5 separate regions of the Homo sapiens genome follow, and regions 1, 2, 4 and 5 are each linked to region 3. Evidence: promoter capture Hi-C in 16 types of primary human blood cells and fetal thymus (Javierre and others, 2016). All regions are on one chromosome and are shown on one strand. Each heading gives the region's core, a stretch centred on a gene start or on the middle of the fragment in contact. The rest is flanking DNA. Distances are from core to core; before and after follow the strand shown.

Region 1 (2,700 bases), core at 32-2,531, 3.1 Mb after region 3:
TAAAAATTTATTTCTCACAATTCTGGCAGCTAGGAAGTCCAAGATTCAATGTCTACTGAGGGCTCACCTCTTCACAGACAGTACCTTCTAGTTGTGTCCTCACAAGATGGAAGGGGAGGACACTGGTCTCTTCAGACGTTTATAAGGGCATTAATTTCATTTATGAAGGCCCTACACTCAGCACCTAATCACCTCCCAAAGGTCTCACCTCCTAATATCATCACACTGGGGAATAGATTTCAACGTATGGATTTTGGGAGACACAAATATTTAGTCCACAGCAGAAGGAGAGATGTATGTATGGGGTCATTAAGCGATGTTTAATATTTTGCTTTTATTGTGAAGTTTAACTAAAAACTAGATATGAGATTAAGGTTTACATATAACCACTAACTTCAGTAATAGTTCTGATGCAAAAACCGAGTTCAAAATTCAAATCTTTAGGCCAGGTGTGGTGGCTTACGCCTGTAATCCCAGCACTTTGGGAGACTGAGGCGGGCAGATCACGAAGTCAGGAGTTCAAGACCAGCCTGGCTAGCATACTGAAATCCCGTCTCTACTAAAAATACAAAAATTAGCCGGGCATGGTGGTGCATGCCTGTAATCCTAGCTACTCGGGAGGCTGAGGCAGGAGACTCACCTGACCCTGGGAGGCAGAGGTTACAGTGAGCCAGGATTGTGCCACTGCATTCCAGACTGGGCAACAGAGCGAGACTCCGTTTCCAAAAAAAAAAAATCAAATATTATGTTCAATAAAACATAAATAAAAGCAGAAAATTTAATATGGTTTTAGAGTGGTTTTATCCTATTTCTTATGCCATGAACTTATCTAAAATAGATCTAGTTAGAAATTATTTGGGGTCACTACAAATTCATTGAGTGGCTTACCTCTTCTTTTCCTAATGTTATGAGAACGTCTTCAGTCAAGGGAATTGCTACAAAAACAAAACAAAACAAAGTTACACATATATTTAGTTAATTCTCAAAAATCAAGAATTTAATTTTGCGGTTTTCTAAGATACTTCTTTCCATCTCCATTTATATAATATACAACTTTTTCTCCCCTCCAAGGCAGAGTTTCCCTCTTGTCACCCAGGCTGCAGTGCAATGGCGCTATTTGGCTCACTGCAACCTCCACCTCCCTGGTTCAAACAATTCTCGTGCTTCAGCCTCCTGAGTAGCTGGGATTACAGGCATCCACCAACATGCCTGGCTAATTTTTGTGTTTTTAGTAGAGATGGGATTTCATCATGTTGGCCAAGCCAGTCTTGAACTCCTGACCTCAAGTGATCCACCTGCCTTGACAATACACAACTTTTTACGAAATGTGTGCAGTTTTCATTTTATTTATTTTTAACATCTTTGCACATATAGCCAACTATATATAATTTTAGATAAATTTGATCCTATTTATGTACTGTTTAGTGCCTTTTTCTTTTCTTCTTTTGTTCTTCAAACCCTCAAAAGGGAAGCTAATAATCTATAGTGTGTTCCTCAAATACTTTCCCTGTAGTCATATATCCTATGTACACATATGTAACATACATTTACATACACTTAAAAGGGTTATTTTTATCATCATTGGTTTTACAAGAATGGGGTCATATCACACATATTATATTCATCTTACTTTCACTCAATAAAACCCCCAGGGAAACCTAGACCTATATAGGTCTAATTCATAACTTTTAATGGCTGCATGATATTCCAAAATGAATATACCATAATATACTGAGTGATTGCCCTCTTGATTGAACACTTTTAGATTAACTTTGTGTCTAGTTTCTAGTCATAACAAACAAGGATGCAGTAAGCAGACTTTTATACACGTTTTTATGTACTGGTGCTCTCATTTCTATAGAACAGATTCTCAGAAATGAAATTTCAGAGAATGAAATGTGTACTTTGAATCTGAATAGAGAATGTCAGCTTCCTTTCTAAAGACATTTCCATGAGCTATGAAGAAAAAACAGCAAGAAATATTACAAACTCTTCTAAAATTTTTGCCAGCCTGATGAGTAGAAACAAATGTGTAATTTTGTATAGCAAATTTTAATGCGTTCAATCCTTATGCTAGAAATTTTCCTTTACTAATGAAGAGCTATTTGAAACTTCTCAAATAGTAGGCTACTGAAAACTTTCAAAGGTATCTGCTATTCTAGAAAGCCTTCTAACAGGGAAGAACTTTCTACATGTGCTTCATAGATAGGTTTGTATTAGAATATTCAGTGCCTTGGAAGGGTTTGCTCTCTGCTTCCAAGATGGTGTCTTCTTGCTGTGTCCTCACATAGTGGAAGGCAAAAGGGGAAAAAAAGACTAGATACTACCTTCAACCTCTATAAGAAGCTCACTAATCACATCCTAAAGACCTCACTTTTTAACACTATCATAATGGTGATTAAGTTTTAACATGAATTTTGGGGGATATATTTAGGCCACAGCAGACAGCTACTATCAAAAAAACAGAAAGTAACAAGTGTTAACAAGGATGTTGAGAAACTGAAACCATGTGCACTGTCGGTGGGATTGAAATATGGTGTGACCATTATGGAAAATAGTATAGGTGGTTCCTCAAAAAACTTAAAATAGAACTATCATATGATCCACTATTTCTGGTAGACATCCAAAAGAATTGAACGCAGGGCCTCAAAGAGAACTGCACATCCATGTTCATGGCAGCACTCACATTCACAGTAATGA
Region 2 (2,700 bases), core at 145-2,644, 3.2 Mb after region 3:
TGTTTTTTGTTTTTCCTTTTCTCCCTGCCTGTTGGTAGGCAGGGTATCCCTACCATATCTTATTCTTTGCAATACTTCTACTTTAGGTCCTGTTTCCCTCTGATTTGGCAAGAGAGACAATCTTGCAATAATAAATTAACATTCTAGCTCTGAGGAGTTCAACTAAGAAATTTTCTCATCACTAAGAGTAACTGGATTACTGCAGAATGACTACAGAAGTAATATTACATTATCGACCATGTGAGAGTGATCCCACACAACTGCCAAAAATTGCAGAAAAAGCAATTCAAGACTTTCCTACTCGTCCGCTATCAAGATTTATACCTTGGTTTCCATATGATGGGTCCAAGCTTCCACTCAGACCTAAAAGATCACCACCTGTGATTTCTGAAGAGGCAGCTGAAGATGTGAAACAGTACTTAACCATTTCAGAACATGATGCTAAGTCACACAGTTATGATTGCACAGTAGATCTATTGGAGTTTCAACCTAGCTTGAAAAAGCAGCATTTAACCTGGTCACACACACTGAAGGAACAGACTAATTCTGGAAATCTGGGTAAACAATCAGAAAAGGGAAAACAGCACAAGAGGAGATCTTGGAGTATTTCCCTTCCCAGCAATAATTGTACTAAAAACGTTTCTCCTTTGTCTAAAAAATTGCAAGATAGTTTAAAGGCACTAAATTTACACTCACTTTATAGAGCAAGATGGACAATAGAACACACTATTTGTAACAGCCAAACTCTGGAAGACATTTGGACAAAACTCAATCAAATTATTAGGCACAATGAACTTCCATCTTGTAATGCTACAATTCAGAGGCATTTAGGCCAAATATGGGTGTTCTGTGATATTATGTATTGTGAATATGTGGGAAGTCTTCTTAAAGGAAGATTAGCTCTTACTGGAAAAATTAATTTATTTGTGCATAAATATGGTGTTATTTTTAGTATGTAATGAATTCCACTGATTGTCAAAAAGAATATTCTGAATGAAATGAATATGGATTGAAATAGATAAAATAATTTTTACAGGTTTTAAAATTTTTAATGACTTTTTAGAATTCCTAGGCTTGTCAATTAAGTCAAGAAATTGCTGAGTTCTGCTTATTGGCAGCCTTCTTTTAAATGTGATAAATTATTGTTTACACTGAATTTGAAGGTAAAAATGTTCTGTTCCTTTTGTTACAAACTGTGATTGAATTAGTCATGAATTAAGTTGTATAGTTTGGATTTTGGTTAATCTCTAAAATCTAATTTTACTGTATTTTTTTCCTTACCTCAAGTGTAATTTTTTAAAAAATAAAACTCGAAACAATTCTCTTTGGAGTGCTATTTATGTGGCATGAATGTAGTTCAAAGTGGGAGACTAGTCTAGATTTATAATGATGTTTCCAAAGATATGTAATAACAATTGATAGGCTGTTTTCAAACAACGATACAAAATGTATACTTTGCCTAAAACGATAATGTATCCTGTTTTGAAGGAAAGTATCAAATGTTGAATGATTGTTTATTTCTTCTAATACAGATAATTCAGTATTAATGATAGTTAGTGCTAATTATTACTTGGCTGATGATTGGAGTCATTGTAGGTTCCCCATAAGCATAATCTTGTAATTGGTTTTACACATCACCTCATAAAAATGCTCAAAGGGATTAAAACAGTAAAAGTTTTGTAGAAGCATGTATGTTTGTTTAACATATTTAAATGCCTACTTTGCACTAGGTGCTAGGATATACTAGGGAAGGAGACAGACATGGACCTTGCCCTCACACAGCTTACATGTCATTACTACTATTAAACACACCAGCTCCCTAAGAAAAATAAGACTGCACTTAACTAGGAATATAGACATGTTTACCTTGAAGCTCAGTGCCTGTCATGGTAGGAGCTTGATAATGCATGGTAAACATTCCCTTCAGAGGGATTCTTCATAGCCTGAGATGGCTGAGGTTGCTTAAAATGGAAGCCCACTAATTTTTTTTTCTTTCTAACTTTTATTTTAGGTTCAAGGGGTACATGTGCAGATTTGTGATATGGGTAAATTGTGTGCCACAGGGGTTTGGTGTACAAATAGTTTTGTCACCCATGTAATCAGGATAATACCCAATAGGTAGTTTTTTAGTCCTCACCCCCTGCCACCTTCTACCCTCAAATAGGCCTCAGTGTCTATTGTTCTGTTTTTTGTGTCCATGTATACTCATTGTTTATCTCTCACTTATGAGAATATGTGGTATTTGATTTTCTGTTCCTGCATAAATTGGCTTAGGATAATGGCCTCCAGTTGCATCTACGTTGCTGCAAAGGCCATAATCTGAAAATATGAAGAAAAAAGTTGCTTTTAATACCAAGTTGGGATCACTTTATTTTTAATGGAGGATCATTTTTTACCCACCATCTCATCCCCTGCTAAACCACAGGAATCATGAAAAACTAAGCTTTATAGGACTTTTCTTTATAATAGAAATTGGAACCTATAATAAGCAAATATGTTAGCTACATGTTTGGGTGAACTCCAGGACACTAAGAAAAAAAAAAAAGGAATGTTTCAGGATTCCCTTGAGACTGTATTTTCTCTTTATTCAGATTTGTTTTCTAATGAAATGAAAAAAATAATAGGGAAGAAATAGAAAACACCAACTGGTACTAAAAGTGAACTTACCAGCCTGGGCAACATGGTGAAACTCCGTCTCTA
Region 3 (2,700 bases), core at 101-2,600:
ATGTCTGCACACAGCTCTAATATTCTACGGCCATAGCTTTCATCAGATGCTCAAAGGAAACTATGAGCTAAAAAGGTTAAAATAGTACATGACCCTTCTTTCTTTTTTTCTCAGTTTTCAAATGACACGAAGCCTGACAAGATCCTTTAACTATGTAATGCTCTTTCTACAGCTCCAGGATGCTTTCCTTGCTTTTAACCATAAGTGTAATCTGCACCGTGTGTATTTCACTTCCTAACACCCAATCATCCATAACCATAAGAGAACATCAATAACTCAGAAAGCAGTAATACTCCAAGCAATTTATATGTGGTACTAGCATACACCAAATAATTTATATGTAGTACTATATGTTTTTCTGGGGAACAAACTTTCTAATGTGTAGTTTAGACATAAATAGATGGAGTACATAAAAACTAAGTGATCAAAAAGGTGATTAGAAATAGAAGAATAATTATCTTGAACAAATACAAAGGTCCAGCTATAAAGTAGATAATCCACAAAAAGACACAGAATTGGGAACCAGGAGAAACTCAGACCCACAAAATGAAGCTTATCATGCAGAAGACAGCCCAAGAATCCTAGACAATTATTTGATTCATTCAACAAATATTTACAGAGCATCTAATTTACGGCAGGCAGACTTTCTGCGCTTATGTATTCATAGGAATAAAATTAATAAACCAACAACTCTCTCCCTTTCCTCTTCCACACCCACCTTATCGATAATGCTGTTAATAATGAGAGGATTTTTCAAAATGTGCTGCCCAATCCCCGTGTTGAACATGAGTCCTGTAAGAAAATACGAAACAGCATTAATTTTCCTACTGAGATTAGATATTAGGCAGTACCAGAGAAGAAAGCTGCATGGGTATGGGGAAGATTTCTGCGCCAACCAGGGCCACGAAACGTCACGCCAGGACTGACAAACTCTTTATAAGTTCATCCTCCAGCTGGAAAGGAAGTCAGCGGCGACGCGCAGGGCCTGCGGCCGAGTCGGGGACCCACCCCTGCCTTCCGCGCTCACGGGAGCGCGTCCTGACCGGCCTCTGCCGATCAGGTCTTGGTCCGCACCCCAGGCTAGGTCCTGCCGGAAGACCTGACCCGACCGACCCCAGCTTCCTCGCGGGGATCCGCACCTCCAGCGCTCTTCAGCTCCCGGCGCTGCTCCTGCCGCCCGCGGCGGCGGCCGATGGCCCCCGACTTGACCTTCGGCATCTCGGCAGAAAGCGGGCCCACAGGCCCGGGACGTCAAGGAGGACCAAAGAGGGCTAGCGTGAGAAAGCCACCACGTGGGGATCGCCGCCACGCGCCGCCCGCACCACTCTGGCCCAAGCGCCGGAGGGGCAAGGGTCCGCCCCCTCCCGTACGCTCTGAGCTCCTCCTCCAGAAAAAGGGCGGACCTTGGAGCCCACTGACTGCCGGGAATTGGAGTCACAGAGGGAGGAAGGCCGAACCGCGGGAGCCTACAGATCCCAGAAGACACCGCGCTACCGAGGACTGCAGTCTGGAGTTGGAGCCCTTGTCCCAACCAGGGCTGGATAAGAAGGTGTTGGTGTGGTGCTCTCGGTGTTGCGAAGGCTGTTTAAGTTATATGATGAGGTTAAGCCTATGGATGTTTTAGTAGCCTAGGTTCTGGGATCGCTGAGGTCCAAAGAAGTATTCACGTGCCTCGCTCCTGTTTTCCTGAAGCTTGTGGGGGTGGGAAACCCGGGATTTGGGGATGAGCTTGCTCTTTTGTGGGAATGCATTTTTTGCTGCTTGCCCTGGGGAAAAGAACTGCGAGAATGGAATTAACGTCTGGTTTCGCTAGGGCTACTGGTTGCTTCTACTAAGAATAGAAGAGCCGGGCGCGGAGGCTCACGCCTGTAATCCCAGCACTCTGGGAGGCAGAGGCGGGCGGATCACAAGGTCAGGAGATCGAGACCATCCTGGCTAACACGGGGAAACCCCGTCTCTACTAAAAATACAAAAAATTAGCCGGGCGTGGTGGTGGGCGCCTGTAGTCTCAGCTACTTGGGAGACTGAGGCAGGAGAGTGGCGTGAACCCAGGAGGCGGAGGTTGCAGTGAGCCGAGATCGCGCTACTGCACTCCAGCCTGGGCGGCAGAGCGAGACTCCGTCTCAAAAAAAAAAAAAAAAAAAAAGGAATAGAAGAATAATTATCTTAAACAGATACAAAGCTCCAGCTACAAAGTAGATAATCCACAAAAAGACAGAATTGAGAACCAGGAGAAACTCAGACCCACAGAATGAAGCTTATCGTGCAGAAGACAGCCCGTGAATCCTAGAAAATTATTTGATTCATTTAACAAATAATTCAACAAATTCCTTTTGTGCCTCATCATTCACTCCGTAAACATTTATTGAGCTCCAACTGTGTATCAAACACTGCTAGGGATTCTAAGTAAGAAACTTATTTCAAAGTGTATTATATTGACAGAGATGGACAGAAACTCCAAAACGCTGTAAATACGATAACGTATTGGTCGTTGTGACAGGACAGTGTACCTGACTATAAACTCCGTGTGTACCAGGGCCATAATATCCACATCTGTTTTGCCAGCCAGTGTAATGGCTCTTTTAAATTTTTCTGTGTGTATTCTGTTTGGTTGAAGAAATAGCTTCTTCCTGTCATTACTAAAGCTAACTCTCTTTTGAGCAATTCATTGTGTACATTCCCAAACCTTGGTCTTAGGCC
Region 4 (2,700 bases), core at 42-2,541, 3.2 Mb after region 3:
GTTGCTGCCTGAGCCAAATCAATTTTTCACGAACATGAGCATCAACAACACTTAGAGCCATTTCTTCTTGACGACACAGAGTTTCATGTAGATCATAAAAATAAGCTCGAATACATGACCGGGCATTCTCTGCAGTCCCTGGTACCTAAGAAAATGAAAATAAATTTTAAGCAACTGTAATGTTAATAAAGATTTTACCTGTGAAATATTTAAAATTTCAGCCTAGGCAACATGGCAAAACTCTGTCTCTACAAAAAATGGAAAAAATTAGCCAGCCGTGGTGGCATGTGCCTGTAGTCCCAGCTACTCAGGAGGCTGAGGCGGGAGGATTGATTGAGCCCCAGAAGTCAAGGCTGCAGTGAGTGGTGATCACAACACTGCATGCCAGCCTGGGTGACCGAGCGAGACATTGTTTAAATACCATCTATATTAAATTCCAAAATATAAATCTCCATGCTAGATCTTTCCCCTAATGCACAGACATTGGAAATTCAACTGTTTATAAATGACATCTCAAGCAAAATGGAATGCCTAATCTCCAGTCTCCCCTATTCCCAAACCTAATTGCCTCTGTCTTGGTAAATGGCAACTCCATCCTTCAGGATGTTGAAGCAAAAACAACCGGAGTCATCATTATCAGCTCTCTTTCATAGCCCACTAGTCCCTCAGCAAATTCTGCTGACTTCAAAATACACCCAAAATCTGATCATGCCTCATCACCTCTAAGTTACCTATCCAATCAATATTAACAATTAATCACTAAGACCTATCTATTCTACTTATTTAAAATCTCAAATCCATTGACTTGTGTCCACTCTCACTACCCTAGTGTATTATAGGCCATAAACATCTCTAGTATTTTAACTAGAAAACTTTAACAACATCCTAATAGGTCTGCCTGCTTCCAATTTTGTTGCTCCTCCAATTCATTTTCTACATTTAAAACAACCTTTCTTGAGGAAAATCTGATTATATCATTCCTAAGTCAATTCTTCAATGGCTCATCACTGTCCTTAAACTAAGTTCTGAACTCTTTAACATGGCTGACAAGATCCTGCATGATTTGGCTTTGAACTCTCCATATCCTCTTTTCTTGTCATGTCCCATTCAATACTTAAAGCTCTAACTACAGTGAGCTTCTTTAAGTCTCTACAATATGTACAATCCTCACTTACAAACATTTTAACATATTGTTCCCTTCTTGGGACAACTCATTCCCCGTTCTGCTCTTTTCCCTGACTGAAATTCTTCAAATCTCAGTTTAAACACCATTTCTTCTATAAGGACTTCTCTGACCTCCATAAATCATTGTCCCTGTTTTGTGATGCCAAAGCACCCTGTACTTCTCCTCCATAAAATAGTTACCATATTTCAAACTCTCTCTTTTCCATGATGAATGAGTTCCTGAAAGACAGGGACTTTTAAAAAACTTTCTAATGATTGGTGCAATACTGGCAAATTGTAATTGCCCATTAATTACTTAGTAGAAGGTGAAAATATGAAAAATAAAAAAGAATGAGAAAGTGAAGAAGAAAAAAAATCCATACATGTTCTGTGTGAGCCATTCCAATTCCATCTTCCACGATTTGTTCTCCTCCTTCAATGTGCTGCACAATTCCAACTAATTTTCTGGAATAATCTGAGATTTCCTCTGTGAAGGTCCGTATGCAGTGAGCCATATCTAAAATTGATGCTCGGATCTGATTAGCTTCTGGTTCCAATACTGAATGCTATAAAATGTACCATAATTAGAGAAAAGAACTCATAGTATTGACTAATAATATAAAAAACTATTTAAATCCCTATTAATACAAAAAAGCATCAGCCACAAGTGACTTTTATGACACAGAAAAATACTAATTTACTTTCACTCCTTTATAAGAAAACTGTACTGCAAAGAAGTAATTTAAAATTTGGAAGTCCGTTTATTGCTAAACAAAAAACCAAGAGACTATCTCTAAAATCATATCCTAAGTAAGAGCTAACAGACATAAATATTGTCAAAACAATCTGGTGCATTATGAAAACATGCAAGCAAACAGAATGTTTGTTTCCTGCTCGAAAGCTATTTTTTTGTGAAGAATCATGATGCCTCTTTGAAGTTTTTTTTTTTTTATAACATTCAGAAATTAAATCTCTCATTTATTTTCATGCTACCAAACCCAATCACTCATCACTTAACTCTTCTTCAATCCCTACTTTCAGAATAAAGAACCAGGTCAGTGAAAACGAATACTGAGCTGGTAAAGTAGCTACAGTGATCCAACTGATTAATAATTAAATTCATACCTTGTGACCCTGGTGTTTTCCATATTCTTTGCAGACACAGCACATGAGTGGGCTAGTTTGACAACCTTCTTCCAAGCAAACAAACTCAATGGCATGCACCTGGTGCTGAGAGCACATAGTTTTCTCATGAGGTTTATCAGCTAGAGGAACTCGCCTGTGCTTTGCTAATGTCTTTGTAGAATGAGTAACTTGAGAACACTCAGAGCACAAATGAGTTGCACACACAGTGCAATATACAGAGGCAAGGTGAGCTTCATCTTCATCACAACGAATGATGCTCTGATAAACAAAAAATTAATGCCTTAAAATTGAACCCAATCAGTATAACATGACGAATTTTTAAATATAGAATCCATAATCCTTTTTGCTTAACTGAACAATATTTACATATGAAAATATATTGGTCATTAA
Region 5 (2,700 bases), core at 1-2,500, 3.2 Mb after region 3:
AATATAGTGAGACCTTGTCTCTTAAGAAAAAAACATATTTTTAAGGTGCTATGGCTGTATTTTTTTTGACTGCTAAATGACCTTGAAATTTTAATACTGTCAAACTCAAATATTAGTTAAGCAGTCATGTTCTAAAGATAACTAAGTTGAACAATAAGAATATACTACTTACATGACCCTCCGTGCTTGTCCTGAGATTAGAGATTATGAAAAAAAAAAACAACTGTCCTTCTGAAACATTCAGAAGACATGGAAAGGAAACATCATTAGGAAGCAGAACTGCAAAGAAAACTGTTTTAAGATGCTCTGAATAGGTTTCATATTTGTAACATATGTCTTAATAGGTGCCCTAAGACAGTGGAAAACTTCTGTGTTCACAGCAGAAATGGTTATTATAATGGGCATACATTTCACCGTATAATTAAGGTAAGTTACATAAATTTCATGTCATATAAGAAATACTGTATTATTACATAGCAAGAGATTTAAGCGCAAGGAATCTTCTTCTCTCACACTTAATCAGTTTAGTGGAAAGGAACAGGAAAAATACACTATGGAAGCCAAAGGAGGAGTGGATGGTCATAAATATCAACATCTAGAATCAACAGGAATAGTGGCATGATTAGAAACACTGAAGCAATATTTTGTCAGCAGCTAAAGTAAAGGGTAAGATAATGAATAAAGGGTCATGCTGAGATTACATCAGTAACCTAGGTAACCTCTTTGTCGTGGCTAGATAGGGTCTAGATCTAGAAGATATGATTTTTCAATCATAGAGGAGCCACAGTGCCATCTGATCTGTGAGAACCTGTAATATACCAGAGGAGGAGAGAGAACTCAGCCCCTGGATTTTGTTGAGCAGCTTTCCATAAAGTGGATGGGGCACTGATACAGTGCTTGGTTTCTGGCAGGTCAGAAACGGCAGGATGAAAAGTCAGATCTCAGGGTCCTAAAGGAATTAGCGAAAAGGCTTTCCAGGAAATCCAGAGTATTTGGGGAAAGGGAGAGGGAGAAGAGGAGGGCAATTATATAAAACATAACATACAGATCCTAAAATTGATAGTATTAACTGGCTTTATTTGGGTTATTGAGAAAGACAGAACATGTCTATAAATGAGAAGACGACCTTTGCATTTATGTTTCAATCAAGGTGGTGGTTGGGCAATGGAAATACATCATCCAAATTTAAGTGTTAAGGGTTTAATCAAATCACTTTATAGTGACAGTTAATATTACACTGAATACAAAGCACTCTTGGCAGAAATAAAACTTCAAAGCGTACATATATCGAAAAGGACAATGTAATGTTTTTGTGTACTTTCTGTTAAGGGCTTTATGATTCAGACTGGAGATCCAACAGGTACTGGTATGGGAGGAGAAAGCATATGGGGAGGAGAATTTGAAGATGAATTTCATTCAACATTACGACATGACAGGCCATACACACTCAGCATGGCTAACGCGGGATCAAATACTAATGGATCCCAGTTTTTCATAACGGTAGTACCAACGGTAAGTACAGTATCATTGTTTATAAACTACAGATTGATAGGTTATGATGTAAGAGAGTGAACTCAGTAGAAGAGCTGCATTATTCTGTATTTTCTGCATTATTTATATCATCTAGCAGAATACAAATATGAAAATGATCAAGAATATAAAATTATGTGACTAATCAGTTTAGAATTGGTAAAACAATACTGCCACTGTAGTAAGAAATACAATGGACTACGATTCAAGATACTTGAGTTTCAATCTCAACTCTGCCTCTACTGATGATGTAACCTAAAATAAATTATTTCACTTCTGTGAGCCTATTTCCTTGTCTTTAGAATACAAAGATTAGAGTATATGAATTCACAATTTTGAGACAATTTCCCCCACATTTTAGTATCTCTGAAATCAGAATACATTAGATTTGATGAAATACAGTATAAGGTAACCTAGCTCTATTGCTATGCCATAACACAAAATTATAAAAATTACCTAGTTTTTGTTTTGGAATTAAGCACTAAGTGATGAAGAAGGGAAAAATGTAACTACCATCTGCCAGGCACATAGTTTTATGTAGTATTCACAGTACTTCTACTATCAGTATCCCCAGTTTTCAATAATAGATGAAGAAACAGTGAGACATGATTAACTTGCCAAAAGGTCAAGTAGCCAAGCTAGCATTTGAACTCCCACCTGTCTAATGCCAAAGTATGTGCTGCATAAACTATTTCAAACTGCCTCTGAATAAACTGTTCAGGTAAGAGTCCTCCAGAGACCTTTTAAAGCCTTAGCCACAATTCTGTAAGCCATGTGAAGTAACTTACCTTTAGGGAAGATCTTCCAGTTCCCTTTGGTCTGAAAGATGCAGATATTTAATTAAACATTATACTATGCTTCTATTTTTTTTAACACACTGGAAATAACTTTTAAAAGCTGCTACATTTTTATTGCTGAGAAATTATTGTACTTCTTTTTAAATATATGCTAAAGGGGAGCGTAAACTTAAATTCTCTTTAATTTGCTCAACCAGAGGATATAATTTAAAGAAATTGGGGTTTACCAAGATTTTCCATTTGTCCTCCAACACAGCCTTGGCTTGATAATAAGCATACAGTATTTGGACGAGTGACTAAAGGAATGGAAGTTGTACAGAGGATCTCCAACGTCAAAGTCAATCCCAAAACAGATAAGCCCTATGAGGATGTC

Evidence for each region. The method cuts DNA at HindIII sites, captures the fragments that hold promoters and counts their contacts. A CHiCAGO score of 5 or more calls a contact.
Region 1: a contact is called between a fragment that was not itself captured here and the fragment with the promoter of DIMT1 in region 3, in 1 of 17 cell types (naive CD8 T cells). The highest score is 5.2, in naive CD8 T cells.
Region 2: a contact is called between a fragment that was not itself captured here and the fragment with the promoter of DIMT1 in region 3, in 7 of 17 cell types (total CD4 T cells, naive CD4 T cells, naive CD8 T cells and 4 more). The highest score is 13.0, in total CD4 T cells.
Region 4: a contact is called between a fragment that was not itself captured here and the fragment with the promoter of DIMT1 in region 3, in 2 of 17 cell types (naive CD8 T cells and total B cells). The highest score is 8.6, in naive CD8 T cells.
Region 5: a contact is called between a fragment that was not itself captured here and the fragment with the promoter of DIMT1 in region 3, in 2 of 17 cell types (naive CD8 T cells and naive CD4 T cells). The highest score is 8.5, in naive CD8 T cells.

Annotation. Positions count from the first base shown.
Region 1 is chr5:65,541,914-65,544,613 of GRCh38, forward strand. It overlaps CENPK (centromere protein K), which reads right to left. Exons shown (of 11, transcript NM_022145.5): 6 at 889-935. Among named protein-coding and RNA genes, the nearest start is that of CENPK, 20 kb to the right of the region's middle. The HindIII fragment of the contact is 5,104 bases long and covers 1-2,700 here.
Region 2 is chr5:65,629,382-65,632,081 of GRCh38, forward strand. The region is part of intron 1 of TRAPPC13 (trafficking protein particle complex subunit 13); the gene reads left to right. It overlaps SHLD3 (shieldin complex subunit 3), which reads left to right. Exons shown (of 2, transcript NM_001365341.2): 2 at 87-1,547. The coding sequence starts at 207. The coding sequence ends at 959. Among named protein-coding and RNA genes, the nearest start is that of TRAPPC13, 5.7 kb to the left of the region's middle. The HindIII fragment of the contact is 2,093 bases long and covers 349-2,441 here.
Region 3 is chr5:62,402,555-62,405,254 of GRCh38, forward strand. It overlaps DIMT1 (DIM1 rRNA methyltransferase and ribosome maturation factor), which reads right to left and starts at 1,351. Exons shown (of 12, transcript NM_014473.4): 1 at 1,140-1,351; 2 at 719-792. The coding sequence starts at 1,218. RefSeq lists an enhancer at 1,272-1,561. The HindIII fragment of the contact is 1,140 bases long and covers 551-1,690 here.
Region 4 is chr5:65,609,314-65,612,013 of GRCh38, forward strand. TRIM23 (tripartite motif containing 23) reads right to left here. Exons shown (of 11, transcript NM_001656.4): 4 at 2,290-2,568; 5 at 1,548-1,730; 6 at 1-145. Among named protein-coding and RNA genes, the nearest start is that of TRIM23, 14 kb to the right of the region's middle. The HindIII fragment of the contact is 3,505 bases long and covers 1-2,700 here.
Region 5 is chr5:65,584,670-65,587,369 of GRCh38, forward strand. It overlaps PPWD1 (peptidylprolyl isomerase domain and WD repeat containing 1), which reads left to right. Exons shown (of 11, transcript NM_015342.4): 9 at 345-426; 10 at 1,330-1,512; 11 at 2,584-2,700. Among named protein-coding and RNA genes, the nearest start is that of PPWD1, 23 kb to the left of the region's middle. The HindIII fragment of the contact is 3,088 bases long and covers 1-2,700 here.